Linked DNA regions of Homo sapiens: regions 1, 2 and 4 are each linked to region 3. Evidence: promoter capture Hi-C in 16 types of primary human blood cells and fetal thymus (Javierre and others, 2016). All regions are on one chromosome and are shown on one strand. Each heading gives the region's core, a stretch centred on a gene start or on the middle of the fragment in contact. The rest is flanking DNA. Distances are from core to core; before and after follow the strand shown. Region 1 holds the start of CCT2 (chaperonin containing TCP1 subunit 2). Region 2 overlaps RAB3IP (RAB3A interacting protein). Region 3 holds the start of MIRLET7IHG (MIRLET7I host gene). Region 4 holds the start of CNOT2 (CCR4-NOT transcription complex subunit 2).

What was found. The method cuts DNA at HindIII sites, captures the fragments that hold promoters and counts their contacts. A CHiCAGO score of 5 or more calls a contact.
Region 1: a contact is called between the fragment with the promoter of CCT2 here and the fragment with the promoter of MIRLET7IHG in region 3, in 2 of 17 cell types (total B cells and total CD8 T cells). The highest score is 8.3, in total B cells.
Region 2: a fragment that was not itself captured here is called in contact with the fragment with the promoter of MIRLET7IHG in region 3 in 2 of 17 cell types (activated CD4 T cells and non-activated CD4 T cells); the score reaches 9.9 in activated CD4 T cells.
Region 4: a contact is called between the fragment with the promoter of CNOT2 here and the fragment with the promoter of MIRLET7IHG in region 3, in 1 of 17 cell types (total CD8 T cells). The highest score is 5.0, in total CD8 T cells.

What each region holds. Positions count from the first base shown.
Region 1 is chr12:69,583,965-69,587,397 of GRCh38, forward strand. CCT2 (chaperonin containing TCP1 subunit 2) reads left to right here and starts at 1,495. Exons shown (of 16, transcript NM_006431.3): 1 at 1,495-1,560; 2 at 2,306-2,380; 3 at 2,789-2,854. The coding sequence starts at 1,558. MIR3913-1 (microRNA 3913-1) reads right to left here and starts at 859; the gene lies at 758-859. It overlaps MIR3913-2 (microRNA 3913-2), which reads left to right and starts at 759; the gene lies at 759-858. RefSeq lists an enhancer at 1,526-1,865. The HindIII fragment of the contact is 2,214 bases long and covers 1-2,168 here.
Region 2 is chr12:69,741,410-69,744,667 of GRCh38, forward strand. All of the region lies in intron 1 of RAB3IP (RAB3A interacting protein), which reads left to right. Among named protein-coding and RNA genes, the nearest start is that of RAB3IP, 4.2 kb to the left of the region's middle. The HindIII fragment of the contact is 1,122 bases long and covers 1,418-2,539 here.
Region 3 is chr12:62,600,972-62,604,264 of GRCh38, forward strand. It overlaps MIRLET7IHG (MIRLET7I host gene), which reads left to right and starts at 1,772. Exons shown (of 2, transcript NR_186001.1): 1 at 1,772-1,864. It overlaps LINC01465 (long intergenic non-protein coding RNA 1465), which reads right to left and starts at 2,463. Exons shown (of 1, transcript NR_121682.1): 1 at 780-2,463. It overlaps MIRLET7I (microRNA let-7i), which reads left to right and starts at 2,715; the gene lies at 2,715-2,798. RefSeq lists enhancers at 1,066-1,589, 1,590-2,111, 1,626-1,735, 1,816-2,005, 2,112-2,633 and 1 more and silencers at 2,086-2,395, 2,486-2,785. The HindIII fragment of the contact is 3,704 bases long and covers 1,403-3,293 here.
Region 4 is chr12:70,241,753-70,245,485 of GRCh38, forward strand. It overlaps CNOT2 (CCR4-NOT transcription complex subunit 2), which reads left to right and starts at 1,681. Exons shown (of 16, transcript NM_014515.7): 1 at 1,681-1,728. It overlaps PRANCR (progenitor renewal associated non-coding RNA), which reads right to left and starts at 1,608. Exons shown (of 5, transcript NR_120460.1): 1 at 1,560-1,608; 2 at 1,072-1,141; 3 at 429-477. RefSeq lists enhancers at 967-2,166, 1,341-1,540, 2,271-2,410 and silencers at 1,100-1,639, 1,711-1,970. The HindIII fragment of the contact is 4,785 bases long and covers 1-2,441 here.

The DNA of each region.
Region 1 (3,433 bases), core at 245-2,744, 7.0 Mb after region 3:
CAGGAAATTTTTGATTTCTTTCAACCACTTAAAAATGTAAAAACTATTCTTAGCTCTCAGGCCATACAAAAAACAACTGGCAGGCTGGGTTTGACTCCTCACAGCTTGCCAACCCCTGGTGGAAATCAACCCACTTAGAGGAAATCTGAAGGGTAGAAACAACTAAAAAATTGAAAATTCCTGTTAATGTTAGCAATGTCAAAAATCCAGGAGACCCCAGCTACTCAGGAGACCAAGGCAGGAAGATTGCTTGAGCCCAGGAGTTCCAGGCCAGCCTGGGCAACATAGAAGACCCCATCTCTAAAAAAAACAAAACAGAAAAAGAAAAATCCAGGAGCTTGTTTTGTTTTGTTTTTGTTTTGAGACAGAGTCTCGCTCTGTTGCCCAGGCTGGAGTGCAGCGGCGTGATCTCGGCTCACTGAAACCTCTGCCTCCCGGGTTCAAGCAATTATCCTGCCTCAGCCTCCTGAGTAGCTGGGATTACGGGCATGCACACCACGCCCGGCTAATTTTTGTATTTTCAGTAGAGACAGGGTTTCACCATGTTGGCCAGGCTGGTCTCCAACTCCTGACCTCAGGTGATCCGCCCACCTCGGCCTCCCAAAGTGCTGGGATTACAGGGGTGAGCCACCGCGCCCTGCCGAGGAGCTTAAGCGATCAGTTAGTCAAAGGGAGAAAAGAGGGTATCAGTAGATGACAGAAAAATTTTTTAGAGAACAAATTTTTAGACATCCGTCAACTTAGAGAAAGTAGAAAACTGTCTATAATAAACTGAAATATTTGGGACTGATCTTGATGTCTGCCAAGGTTTTGGCAGACATCAAGATCAGTCCCAAATATTTCAGTTTATTATAAACAAAGACTAATAAGTCGTCTCTACTATTGGAGGAAAAAAAAAAAAAAGACCGAAATGCAAAAATTCCTGAAAATGAGTAAATAGGGCAAAGATAAAATACTATAAATGTCTCTCTCAGTTCACAAGACCTTATCCTGGGCAGTCAACGTCCAGTTAGAAATAACGTCTGAAAATTCAGTAAGAGAAAAGGAAGTCTTCTTCTGTAATACTCAGTAAATAATGTTTAAAATTAACATAGCAATAATATTATCTGGGAATATGATAGTAAATAGCCCCTCCAAAAAACTGAAAAAGTTGAAAGCAGTTTTCCTGGAGACAGGAAGTGGTGAGGCAGATAAATTATGTTTTTCCTTATTGGTATATAACACTTTAAACTGTGTACATGTGTGACTTTAATAGAAGTGTTTAAAGATTAAATTTAAGAAAATAAAAAGTGTGAGCAAGAACTCCATTTCTATGGCAACCCGCGCGGCAGCCGCCTCTTTGTTCTGGAGCGGCGGCCACGCCCCCTCCAGTGTGAAAGGCTGCGTTTCCGGCCCGTGGGGCTCCAATCAAAATGGGACGCCTGCTGGCGGTAACGACAGGCCGGGGCCCCGCCCCCCGAAGTAGGGCGTGTGGCGTCACTTCCGGCTTCCTTCAGTCCGCTGGTCCCGAGCACGAGCTGTGAGGGGATTCACTTGTGTGCGGAACTCCTCGGAACCATGGTGAGCCTGACTCCCCTGCCTCTTGCCCTACCCCTGCTCCGCCGTGCTCTTGCCACCCCACTGCTTCCTCTGTCCTGCTAGGGTCGTAGGCTCCGTTTCTGTCTCCCCGGCCCTCCGCACATGGTGCGAGCCATGCGCGGGGCGTGCGGCCTGCGCCAGGCCAGCCGGTGGAGCTCACCACGAGGGGGAGGGGTGGACCGCAAAGCCAGCGTCTCCTTGTGCCTAGGTCTTTGCATAGTCCCGGCAGCCCAGGTCCGCGCCTCACCCGGAGCGAAGAAATTTCTAGTGTGGGACCCGCTCCGCCCTCCTTCTAGGGGCGGAGCCTGGAGCGACGGGGTCTGAGCCATCAGAGGGTGGAGGGGCCGCAGCCTTCCGAGGGTGGAAGATGGAGGCCGCGTTCCCTCGCCCGCCCGGCAGGCGTCACCTTGATGGCCTGCAACCCCTCCCTGCCTCATTCTTAGTTCAAGATCGTCTTTAGTCTCGCTGTACGTAACTGTCAATCTCGCTGGTGTATAATTTATACTCCCGGGGGCCTTGTAAATCCGAAAAGCCATGTCGCTCTCCTACAAGTCCCTCTCTCCCACTTAAATGCTTTCTCCGATGATGGAAGCTTCATTTGATTGAAAACATTGTTGTAAATGAGTTTTCTCTTAGATGTCCACTTGTAAGACTAGTGGAAGGCACCTCAGTGTATGTGTTAGAGTATTGGTACTTAAACGGAATGCCTCTTGGTTTTCCTTTTCAGGCGTCCCTTTCCCTTGCACCTGTTAACATCTTTAAGGCAGGAGCTGATGAAGAGAGAGCAGAGACAGCTCGTCTGGTAAGCCTTGTTCTAAGCATTGTTTTAAAGATAAAACTGGAGGCCAGGCGCGGTGGCTTACTCCTGTAATCCCAGTACTTTGGGAGGCCGAGGTAGGCGGATGAACTGAGGTCAGGAGTTCGAGACCAGCCTGGCCAACATGGTAAAACCCCGTTTCTACTAGAAATACAAAAATTAGCCGGGCGTGGTGATGGGCACCTGTAATCCCAGCTACTCGGGAGGCTGAGGCAGGAGGATCGCTTGAACCCAGGAGGCGGAGGTTGCAGTGAGCTGAGATCGCGCCATTGCACTCCAGCCTGGGCGACAGAGCGACACTCTGCCTCAAAAAAAAAAAAAAGTAAATAAAGATAAAACTGTACTTGAAGACTGTAAAGTTGATTCTGATAATCTCCTTGGTTTTTACTCCAGACTTCTTTTATTGGTGCCATCGCCATTGGAGACTTGGTAAAGAGCACCTTGGGACCCAAAGGCATGGTAAGAAAAATAGAAAAGTTTTATATTTTAATATTGTTTTAGAGCGCTTGGTGGAAATATAATAACAAGCGTATTAAAATGCTTTTTAATCTTTAAAACGTTTAATTATAAAAGACAAGTATGTTCTCCTTAGTAAAAATCAGAGTCCCCAGAATCACCATCCCCAATCCCATGCCCCTCCCCAATGACAAGTACTGTTATCATTTGCACGTACATCTTCTAATATTCTGTTTATGTAGAAGTATGTGTACTTCATTATGTATTTTATACTCATGTAACATACTGTTTTATAAAACAGATACTATTTATCAATACTTTTTTGTAGCTTGCTCTTTTAAATTCCTTTCAGTGTAAGTAGATAACACTGCCCCTTTAACTGTCAAATATTATCCTGTACCTTAATTATTTTATAATTTAATTATGGCTGTATTGATAGTTTCTTTCCATTGTTTTTGCAGTTACGGTGTTGAAACAAAAACTAGTGTCTACCTGTGCTTCTAGTGTTTCTAGGGGTAGATACATGGTTTGGTTACGTGGTGTATGTATTGAAAACATTTGATGAATGGATACCACAAAATA
Region 2 (3,258 bases), core at 729-3,228, 7.1 Mb after region 3:
TACATTCCTGGTCTGCACCTTCTATTAAAGAGCTTTGTAACTATAAGGAGGCACACAGATGACAAGTGTTACCATTTGTATTTCTGGTTTAAAAATATCCAAGTTTTCTGAAGACGGTGATACCAGCATTGCTACTACAGTTACTTTTAAGTCTAGTGCTTATCAAGCGAAGTCCTGGTGTAAGCTTTATACTCATTTACTCTCAGAGTGAGCGAGGAGATAATACTTTATCCCTATTTTGTAGTTGAGAAAATTGAGACCCTGAGACCTTATGTAGTTTGCTCAACGTCACATAGTTAATTAAGTGACAGGTCTAGATTAGATGTCAGACAGTTTGTCTTCCATGTCTGTGCTCTTAACCACTACACTCTGTCATTTCTTCATGTATAAGTGGTAATGCTAAAGAATTGTTTGCTCATAATCACTACATTATCACTTCTTTATGTGTAGCTTATAATGCTGAAGAACTTTGTAATTTAGCTTTTATGAGATACGTAATGTTAATGTAATATGTAATTCTCATTGTGTCACCAGAGATTTTTTTAAATCAAATACTCATTGAGCATCTACTCTGCAAGTCACAGTAGGGGTTAAAGGAAACTGTTCTTAAGGAATATGGAAGGTAGGGCCTTATAATCATTCCCATATCTTTTATAAGTTCTTCAAAATGTAGAACGCACTTTACATATTTTAATGAATGTCAACTAAGACAAAGTGCTAGGATAGTTGAGTAGTGGAGAGGAAGGACAGATGGATAGTGGGTAGAGATATTTGTGCATTGAGGTAATGAGGGAAAGCTTTGAAGATATTCCAAGGGAGTACGCTTTTTCACACTAAACTTTTTTCCGATATAATTCTGATTAAGATGCAGTTCATCAAAGGATAGTAAATTGGTTACTACGCATTTGATATCCTAAAAACAAAATATCTGAGCTTTTGTAAACTGCTTTCTAGCTTGTTTCTCCTTTTTTATGCTACTATCCTTAGTTGTACCAGATGGTACTCTTTTTAAAAATTTTATGCTTTTATAATACTGAGTACCTCTTTTTTGGTATTTATGAACTTTGATATTTGTGTTGTATTTGTAATTGTTTCTAGGGCCCTAGAAACATGTTTATTGGCAAGGTGGTCTCTTCCTCTAGTCTACAAGTGCTTCGAGAGTAGGGCTTACCTCATTTTATAGCTTTAACATCGGGCCAGGTAAGTACTGTGCTGTGTTTGGTGATGGATGATCAGTTGAAGAATGTTAGGATGTTTTGAAGCTGCTCTAGCAGTAGAAATTGAAATGAACATTGAGAAATGAAGGGACAAAGGAAGGAAGAGGAAGATATTTATACAACTGGGAGCATTAACTTGCTATCTCTATTTTCCCTTCTGCTTTCCTTTTCAACTTACCACTAAATGAGGTAGTTTTATAAGCTTACATCGTACATAGTCATGGTTAGAGAAAAGTGGAAAAAGTAATCTGATTTATCTTAGAATATAGGGCAACACGAAATTAGATAACTATAGCCGTAAACTGATATTACTTAGAGGAAAAAGAATGAAAATTATTCAAATAGTTCAAGTTCATGAAAGATTTGATGCTTGTCGTTAACAGTAGGATTGTAAATATAATCATAATGGCAGTTGATGAAATTCCTCTGAGGGGTATGGATACATACACAAATAAGTATATGAATTGACAGCTTAGTATGAAGAAACTATTCAAGAATGTGAGAATGCCCTATGAGCATAAAGGAGCATATAGATGATAGCTTAGAACCACTTAAATAAGTGAATTGTAATTTGATATGCCCAGATAAAAGTAATAGTATTGAATATTTGTTTGGGAGCATCTGGTTGTCAGATAAGGATAAAGTATAAAAGAAAAACCAAAATAAGTTTGAAAAAACAATAAGCAAATTTGTATCAATTCCCTGTGGGGAAAAGAATCATATTTGAACTACATGCCTCATAAAGACTAGTTTTCCCTTTCTTTCCTTTTACCTAAGATAAATAAAGATACCTTCTGATTTGTAAGACAAACCCCTCAGTATGCTTTTGCTATTTCCCCCATTACATTTTTTTCTTTCTTAGATCTTTATAAAATCATACATTTATGTTGTGCTTTACAATGTATACATTTTTACATTGATATGCCATTTGATTTTCTCAAATGTAGGCAGGGGAGATAATATCACTACCATTATAGATGTCAAAACTGAACCTTAGAGAGATTAAATGACTTGCGTCAGTTCACACAGCTTGTCAGTGACAGAATCTGAACTAGAAGGAAGGTTTTCTGAAGTTAGTCTGTTAAAATGCTCAGGTTTTCTCAAACTTCAATTTCTCCAGTTTTGATACTCTCGCAAAGTATTTACTGTTTCATTTCTATCTTTTTCAGCAAAAATGTAGCCTGAATAACTGTCTCCACTCTTTACCGCTTTGCTATTCATTCCTTCTCTAAAGACTCTTGTTTATTTATTTAGTCAGTGCGTATTTCAGCACCTGTTGAATGTTTAGTTGGCATATATTCTTAAGAGAATATGTAAAATGAAGCTTCCATTATTGAGAAAAAGAAATTTGGAAAATGATTTTTTTAAAAAATTATACTTTTAAGTTCTGGGATACATGTGCAGAATGTGCAGGTTTGTTACATAGGTATACACGTGCCATGGTGGTTTGCTGCACCGGTCAACCCATCATCTACCTTAGGTATTTCTCCTAATGCTATCCCTCCCCTAGCCCGCCACTCCCCCACAGGCCCTGGTGTGTGATATTCCCCTCCCTGTGTCCGTGTGTTCTCATTGTTCATCTCCCACTTATGAGTGAGAACATGCGGTGTTCTGTTAATTTAAATAAATATTTAATTACAAATAAATATTTGTAATTAAATATTAGCTCATTGTATTATTACAAATAATTATTTGTAATTAAATATAATATTAGCTCATAAGTTCAGAACATTTTCTGAAAACTGTCAACATAACACACTGCAATAACTAACATCTCTACACATGTCAGGTTGTACATTGAAGTGTTGTGGAATTAGGCCGGGCATGGTGGCTCACACCTGTAGTCCCAGCACTTGGGAGGTTGAGGCAGACAGTTACTTGAGGTCAGGAGTTCGAGACAAGCCTGGTCAACATGGCAAAACCCCATCTCTACTAAAAATACAAAAAATTAGCTGGGTGTGGTGGCAGGCGCCTGTAATCCCAGCTATTCAGGAGACAGATGTTGCAGTGAGCCGAGATTGTGCCACTGCACTCCAGCCTG
Region 3 (3,293 bases), core at 522-3,021:
CAAGGAAGATAAACTTGCAATCATAAGCAGGATAGGATATATACAGTATGGAAAGCTAAGCTAGAAAGCTGTTGCAATTTTCTTGCTATGAGGTGATGATAAAGAATTGATTAACGGTGGTCATATTCAGAAAGGATACTTAAGATTCCTGATATGCAGGGAGGGGGGAGAAAAAGTTGATGGTAACAGTACATTATATGTGGATGATGAGTATATTGGTGTTAGCACTGTTAAAAACATTATGGAAAGGAATGTAAGTGATAAAGTAGTATAATGACTAAATTTAGTTGGAAACTACTGCTGTAACAAATCTGTATACCATAGACCAAACAGGTGTTTAGTGGCCATTTAAAAATCTGTGCCATTATGGCAAAGGACATTTGCTTTGGTACAGAATAATCTGATCCACTGCGCAGTCAATGAGCAGTGAGGGTTGATTCCCATGGCAGTCCAATCTTTGCTTATCAAGGAAGGATGGTGTGAAGTTTCTACAGACTTTCTGGTAAGTGATTGATAGATGAGTTTATGGTGTGATTGAGTTTTTGCTTTGAGTTTATGCTTAGTGATTGATAGGTGAGTTTATGCTTTGTCAGGTAAAGCATTTAACTGCAAATGTATTATGTTTACACAAATATTCTTAATTGGAAATAGTTTCTGAATATGCACCTAAAAATGTTCTTATGAAATATGTCAGGCAGGCTGATTTTTAACTTGAAAACTTCTACTTTAAGAAATTGTTTGGGTCCCATCGCCTATACCATGTAGAATAGAAACAAAAAGCCAGTTATTTAATTTTTAATTTGCAATTAAACTCTTGGCCAAGAGGATCTGTTGTCCAAAATTACATCGTGATAGCTTAAGAAAAAAAAAATCTTACTTTGCCAGAAAGGGAATTATACAAGGATATCTTTATGAGTTGCTGCCAAATTTTGTTCTAGACCACGGCCCTCTGGCCTCCATGAAGGATCAAAGTCTGGGCAAAGACAATTCTAAGTTGTAGGTAAACATGCTTTTCATTTCCCTCCATTCCTTACTTTTGTCATAAGCAGTCTGGATTTTCAGGGGTAAAGGCTGATAGGGTTGCCAGATACAGTCATTAAAAATTGAGAATGTGCAGTTAAATTGGAATATCAGATAAACAATTTTAAAAATATATGTAACACACATATGCCAAAACACTGGTTATCTGAAATTCCAATTTAACTGGGCGTCCTGTATTTTATCTGACAAGCCCTAACTACTTCTTTAAAATAATTTGTTAACTTCCTACAAAAAATCTCTAAATGGGAGGAAAAAAAAAATCCCGTAAGTTGTCTGGGCCAAAAGCAGAAGTGGCTCCATGGCAGTCAGCCTTCTCCCTAACTTGGCTTAAAAAGAAAAAGCCAAAACCAGAAGTCCCAAAAGCTTGCGTTTAAAGCGGGCTGTGCCGCAGCTTTCCCGCCTGTTTTCTGCGGAATGTAGCACGGCAGCCACCCCGCGTGGGTGGGGCTCGTATGGTTGTGTCCTTGCTGGTTGGGAAAGGAGGTGCCGGAAACTTCAAACCACGGCCAGGGTACAACGTGTCCGCTTAGGCGGCGATATGCGCCGCCATCTTCTTTGCGGGCAAAGGCCGAAAAAAGTTTGGGACTCCACTCCCCCCCGCTGAGCCGATGGAGGGCATCGCCCGCTGCCTCAGCACTCTGGTGACGTGGAATCGGGGTCCCCTCTTTCAGGGCTGATTTCTGGTAGCACGCTGACGCCTGCCAAGGCAGGGAAAGGGGACGCCGCCTCTGTCCCGGATGTAAGATGGCGGCGCGGGGGGCGGCCTGGCGGGGCGGTCACGTGGTGAGGAGTAGCGCGCGAGCCTCCTTAAGTGATCTCTAAGGTTCGTCCGGACGCACAGGAGCAGCGGAGCGCGAGACGGGTCTTGTGTCCGCACGCGTCGAGTCGTCGCAGTCGCCACCCGGGCCATCGCCGGGCCCGGTTTCACTGTTAAGGGGTTTTCGTTTGTTCCGTTTTCGCCTCCTGTAGAGCTGAACGGGAATTCCCCGAAGGGTGCTGGGGAACGGGTGGCCTGGGGACTTCCCGGCTATGCCTTGGCTGCTGTTTGGCGGAGCCGGCGGCAGCCTCTGCGGGATGCCCGCCGGCGATTATCGGCGCCGAGAGCGGGCCGGCGGCGGGTTCGACAGCGCGGCGCGGGTGGGGGCCCGGGTACCGGACTCGGCCGCAGCCCAGCCCCCACCGGGGACTCGGAGCAGGGAGGGGCGCGAGCGGCGCAGCTCGGGACGTGGCGGCAGCTCCTAGCGGGCGAAGCGCGGGAGCGCTGCTCGCTGCCTCTCGGGGGCAGTCCAGAACCAGTTGGTGTCTGACTGCGCTTTTGCCGCCCATTTCCTGCTTTCGAGCGGCTGAGGCGACGCGCTCCCCTCGGGCAGTGGAGGGAGCGGCTCTCTCCGCAGGACACCGCCGCTTTTCTCTCTTCAGAGCGGTGGCTGACGTACAGAACGCCGGCTGTATCACCCGGGCGCCGGCGCCGCCTCTCATCCCCGTAGCTCTCGGGGCGCGCCGGGAGTAGCCGAGCCGCTGGGTGCTGGGCGGGGTCTCCGGGCGCGGCGCGGGGGGAAGGCAAAGGAAAAGAAGGGGCGGCGGGCCGACGTCGGCGGCGAGGAAGGACGGAGGAGCGCCGGAGCCGCTTTGCTGCCCTCCGCGTGGTCCCGTGCCTCCCCGACACCATGGCCCTGGCTGAGGTAGTAGTTTGTGCTGTTGGTCGGGTTGTGACATTGCCCGCTGTGGAGATAACTGCGCAAGCTACTGCCTTGCTAGTGCTGGTGATGCTCAGCGCCGCGGAGGACAATGGCTGGGAATCCCCTTTGTTTTCCGGGGCGCTGCCTGGGGACAGCCCGCGAAGCCTCGGCGCCCGGCCGGCGCGGCCACCACGGAAACCGTTAGTTTCACATTTTCCTAGAAGGAATTGAGGGGAGTGGGGTGGACCGCGATGCATTTTAAAGGTTGGGAAAGAGCTAAGCCATTGGATTCCTTTTCTTGAAGGAAGGAGTGGAATTGTGTAAGATAATTGATACAGATAACTTTTTCACCCTAAAAAATTCTAACACTTCTTTCAGCAGTTAAATGCCAAATTTAGTGTGTACCTGTTTTACTTCATTCTTTAGCTGTAGGTTGGAGTGGTGTGAGCGATCTGCAGAACTGGCATTAGAGGGGCAGAAGAAGTAGACCTGATAATTAAAGTTTATGCCTTAACATTTTAGATCTGGTTTCTGATATGCTCTCTTAGTAAATCTGAGTGTGTCTTTAAAAAC
Region 4 (3,733 bases), core at 431-2,930, 7.6 Mb after region 3:
TAACACTCCTAACCCACACATTTATTATGAAAATGTTTGTTGTTCTATCTCTTCCAGTAAAATACTCAAGGTAATAAAACTCTCATATCAGACTTACACCCTCTGGAAGTCATTCCATAGAGGTATATTCAATCTTTTAACACACCATCTTATGGTTGAAGATGTTAACATGAGAAGGAGGAGAAAGCAGGAAGAGGAAGGGACTATTTGCAGAAGACGGGGAGAAAGAAAGGAAAGACACTAGTATGTGTTGTTCCTCCTCGAATTTTCCTGAAGTGAAAAAAAAACAGTGAAGTAGAGTGTTTGATGAAATGAATAACCAAGCAAAACATTTTCTACCTACACCAGTACCACTAGGAGTTGAAATAAATTCACACAATGTCTGCTGATATGTCAAAACACCTTACCTTCAAAAACATGACAGTTACCTTTTATTTTATAGTATGCTTGTGTTTCTTCCTATTTCTTGCTTTTGACCTTCAATGATAAATGTAAACTGGATTACAGTGATTCTTTTGTAAGTAAAAGGTGACTTTTTAAAAGAAACAACCAATGGAAATAGAAATTTTATTTACTTCAAATTAACTGTACTTTACTCAAATAGAAAAGAATAATTTTCACATTATGAAGCTACACAATTCCAAAATACACATGCTGAGGCTCTTTTTAAGTCCGAATTGTCTAGTAATTACAAAAAAGTGAAGAGTTTACAGATATACAAGGAAATAAAGGCGAATTATTGCAAAGAAAACAAGTTTAATTTCACTTTGAATGACAACGATTTTTCTGGAAAGCAGATACTTCACTCCTTTAAGTTTCCACCCAAGCCACAATAATTTCAAACGGTCTTGCGGATGACCCAGCTGGTCACTCTTGTTTATGTGGGGACTGGAGGTAATGAGAGCCAAAAAAAGTGCTATAAACCTAATTTGGCTAGAGCAAGTTCACACGACACGACCGTGCTTTAAAAACTTGCTCTCCATTATGTACTTCCTTCCATCAGGTTGGGGAAAAAAAAATGGTGGGGATGGTGAGTAAACACACCAGTGGTTTCATCAGAGGGGAACTCACTACTCAGGAGGTGACGGTGACGTGGTGCCGGTCCCTGAAGTACGCGCACAAGCTCCGGAGGTTGCGGGAGCTGAGGGAGGAAACAGGGACACGATCAGATTCGCTCCAGGTGGCGGGAGTGAGGAGGGGAGGAGTGACGAGGCGGACGTGCGGGGGCGGGGGTGTCCAACACAAACACAAACACAAACACGAACACGAACACGCTCAGCGTCCCCGGGGAGGGCGGACTGAAGCCACCTCACCATTCATCGCCCCTGGACCCCGCAGTCCCCCTCGGACTCAGGGCCAGAGCCTTCTGCGAAGCAACCTAGCCCCAGGGAAACGGTAGCGGCCGCAGAAGCCCCGCTCTCTGTAACGGCCGCGGAGGAGCAGCAAGCCTCCCTGTGAGTCGGTGGGAGACAAGACGGAGCGGCGGTAAGGGCGGTAGGGAAGTGAAGCGCCTCTCTCCACCTTGTTAGAAGCGCGCTGAAAGCGGCCTGCCTACCCACCCCATCGCTGCCGTTTTGCAGTCGTCGCTCCCACCTTCCGCTGCCGCCTGGAGGGAAGCCGGAGCGACGGGGGTCACGGCGGCGGTCAGAGGGTAAAGGTCTTGCTCCCAGCAGCCTCCGCGGTGGATACGTCGCCATCTTGGATCCGCGGGACAAGAAAATTCATGCGGTGAGTTTTTGGTAAATTTTCGGAAGTCTGGCAGCGGGGCGCGCGGCGGGGGCGGCAGATTCGGGGCCCCCGCAAGGCGGGGGAATGCCCCGGGGCCGGTCCGGTCGCGCCCAGGGTCCGCCGGTAGCGTCCCGGCCCACCGCTTCCCGTTGCTTTTGTCTCGGCTCCAATCGAGAGACGGAGAGCGGAGCGGGCGGGGAGGGGGGTGGCGGCGGTGGAGGGAGGGAGGGGGTGTGTATGGGGGTGGTGGTGGACCGGACGTAAAGCGTCGCTGTACTCGGGCCGCTGCAGCAGCAGCAGCTCCAGATCCTAGGCCCGGTCCCATCCGCGAGTGGTGGGGCTTCCCCAGACTCCACTCCCCTAGGCTCCCGCCAGCGCGGAGGAGCCGCTGCCGCCGCGCTGCTTCCTGGGGGAGAAGAGAAGGCGGCAGCGGCCGTGGCCGTGGCCGACGAGCTCGAGCCCGCTTTAGACGGCTCTGCCGCCTTCCCGGCAGCTGGTGCTGTCTGTGGCTTCTTACCTTCTCTCAATACACGTATATCATCTGCCAGTTATGTGTATTTCTGTTAGTGTGTTTGCAAGTGTCAGATGGGAGACACTGGACTGGCTAACGGGTGTCAGGATCCTGCAGGCCCTGGGATACCGAAGGCTGTGCATGGTGGAGGGAGAAGGAATGCAACTGCGATGCCGCCTCTGCCACCGCACCAGGAAGGTGAAGCTTCCGTAGTGTCGTAGACTGAGTCCGGATGATCCTGGGGCGGCGGAGGAACCACAGACGCTTCTGTCTGTGAAGTTGCAAGTCCTGGGTTTCTACTTCCGCAGGGGCCTCTCCACCTTTTGCTGTCGTAGGTCTCGCTTAAAAGTTTAACAGAAGAAAAGAGTAGGGTTAAAAGAGGCCTTTGTAGTTCTTCATTGAAGCACTGTTGTCTGTCCGGGTGAAAGCTGATAACTCTTGGTAACTGTGGTCCTTAGCAAAAGAGAATTGGAGTTTTCTTTTATACAAAGTATTTCCAAGGTTTTAGACCTTATATTTATTCCAGGCCTGTAGGTACGGTATTACTACCACAAAAGTCTTACATTAAGGGTACCACCCTCTCAGAGGGAACCTAAACATCAACTTCCTTCGAATCCTTGGAGACATCTTCACTTTTCAACATCCGGAAGACTGAGTGCAACATATTTTGTTTCATTTTCATAAAAGTCTTGGTCAGAGAATCCCACTCCTTTTAAAATCGTTTGGGCAATTCCTCATAATTAAGTACACTGCTTTGAACCCTTAGTTCTTGGCGAAATGGTAAAAAGTACTCAGTTAAAATCAGTTCACGAGGGAGGCCAACTTGAATTTAAGGTTCAAAGTTGAACATATTTAGTGTCATGCTTAATATTAGGAATTTTTAGAGCTCGGAATCATAAGTGTGACTGTTGATTTCCCTTTTGAAGCAATATAAATGGAAAGAATAAAGTATGGGGTGAGGGATGAGATAGAAATTTTAAAGTATCCATTTACATGCAAGGTTGATGTTGAGTTTGGGAATGCTTGGCATAATTGACAACAGTTCTTTCCAAACGTCAATGAATAAATCTCACAATTTTGTAAGGTAACTATTGCAGATTGAAAGGGTTAAGAATCATAGTTGGCTGAAATGGTTAAGTGTCTATATTCACATCCCAGTTCATTGAAATGTTTTATAATGGACCAAGATAATTAGTAAGCTCTGTATGTTGAATTTGTTTAGTTTGTAGTTCTATTATAATGTTAAATCTAAAGAAAAAAATACAAAATACACTTAAAGACAAAACATGTTCCACTCTACTCACTTATTTCTTGACTTTGTAAGATCCTTACTGTAAAAAAGGTACTTTTCTCTCATATTTTCTGAGAGCTTGAATTGTAATAATTTTTGTGAATACTTTGTATTTTAGAGAGGAAGTGAGAAACTGCTGAAGTTTTTTTTGCATCTTGATTAGTGCTTTATCAATACAAATAAGTTAATGTAAACATTTGTTG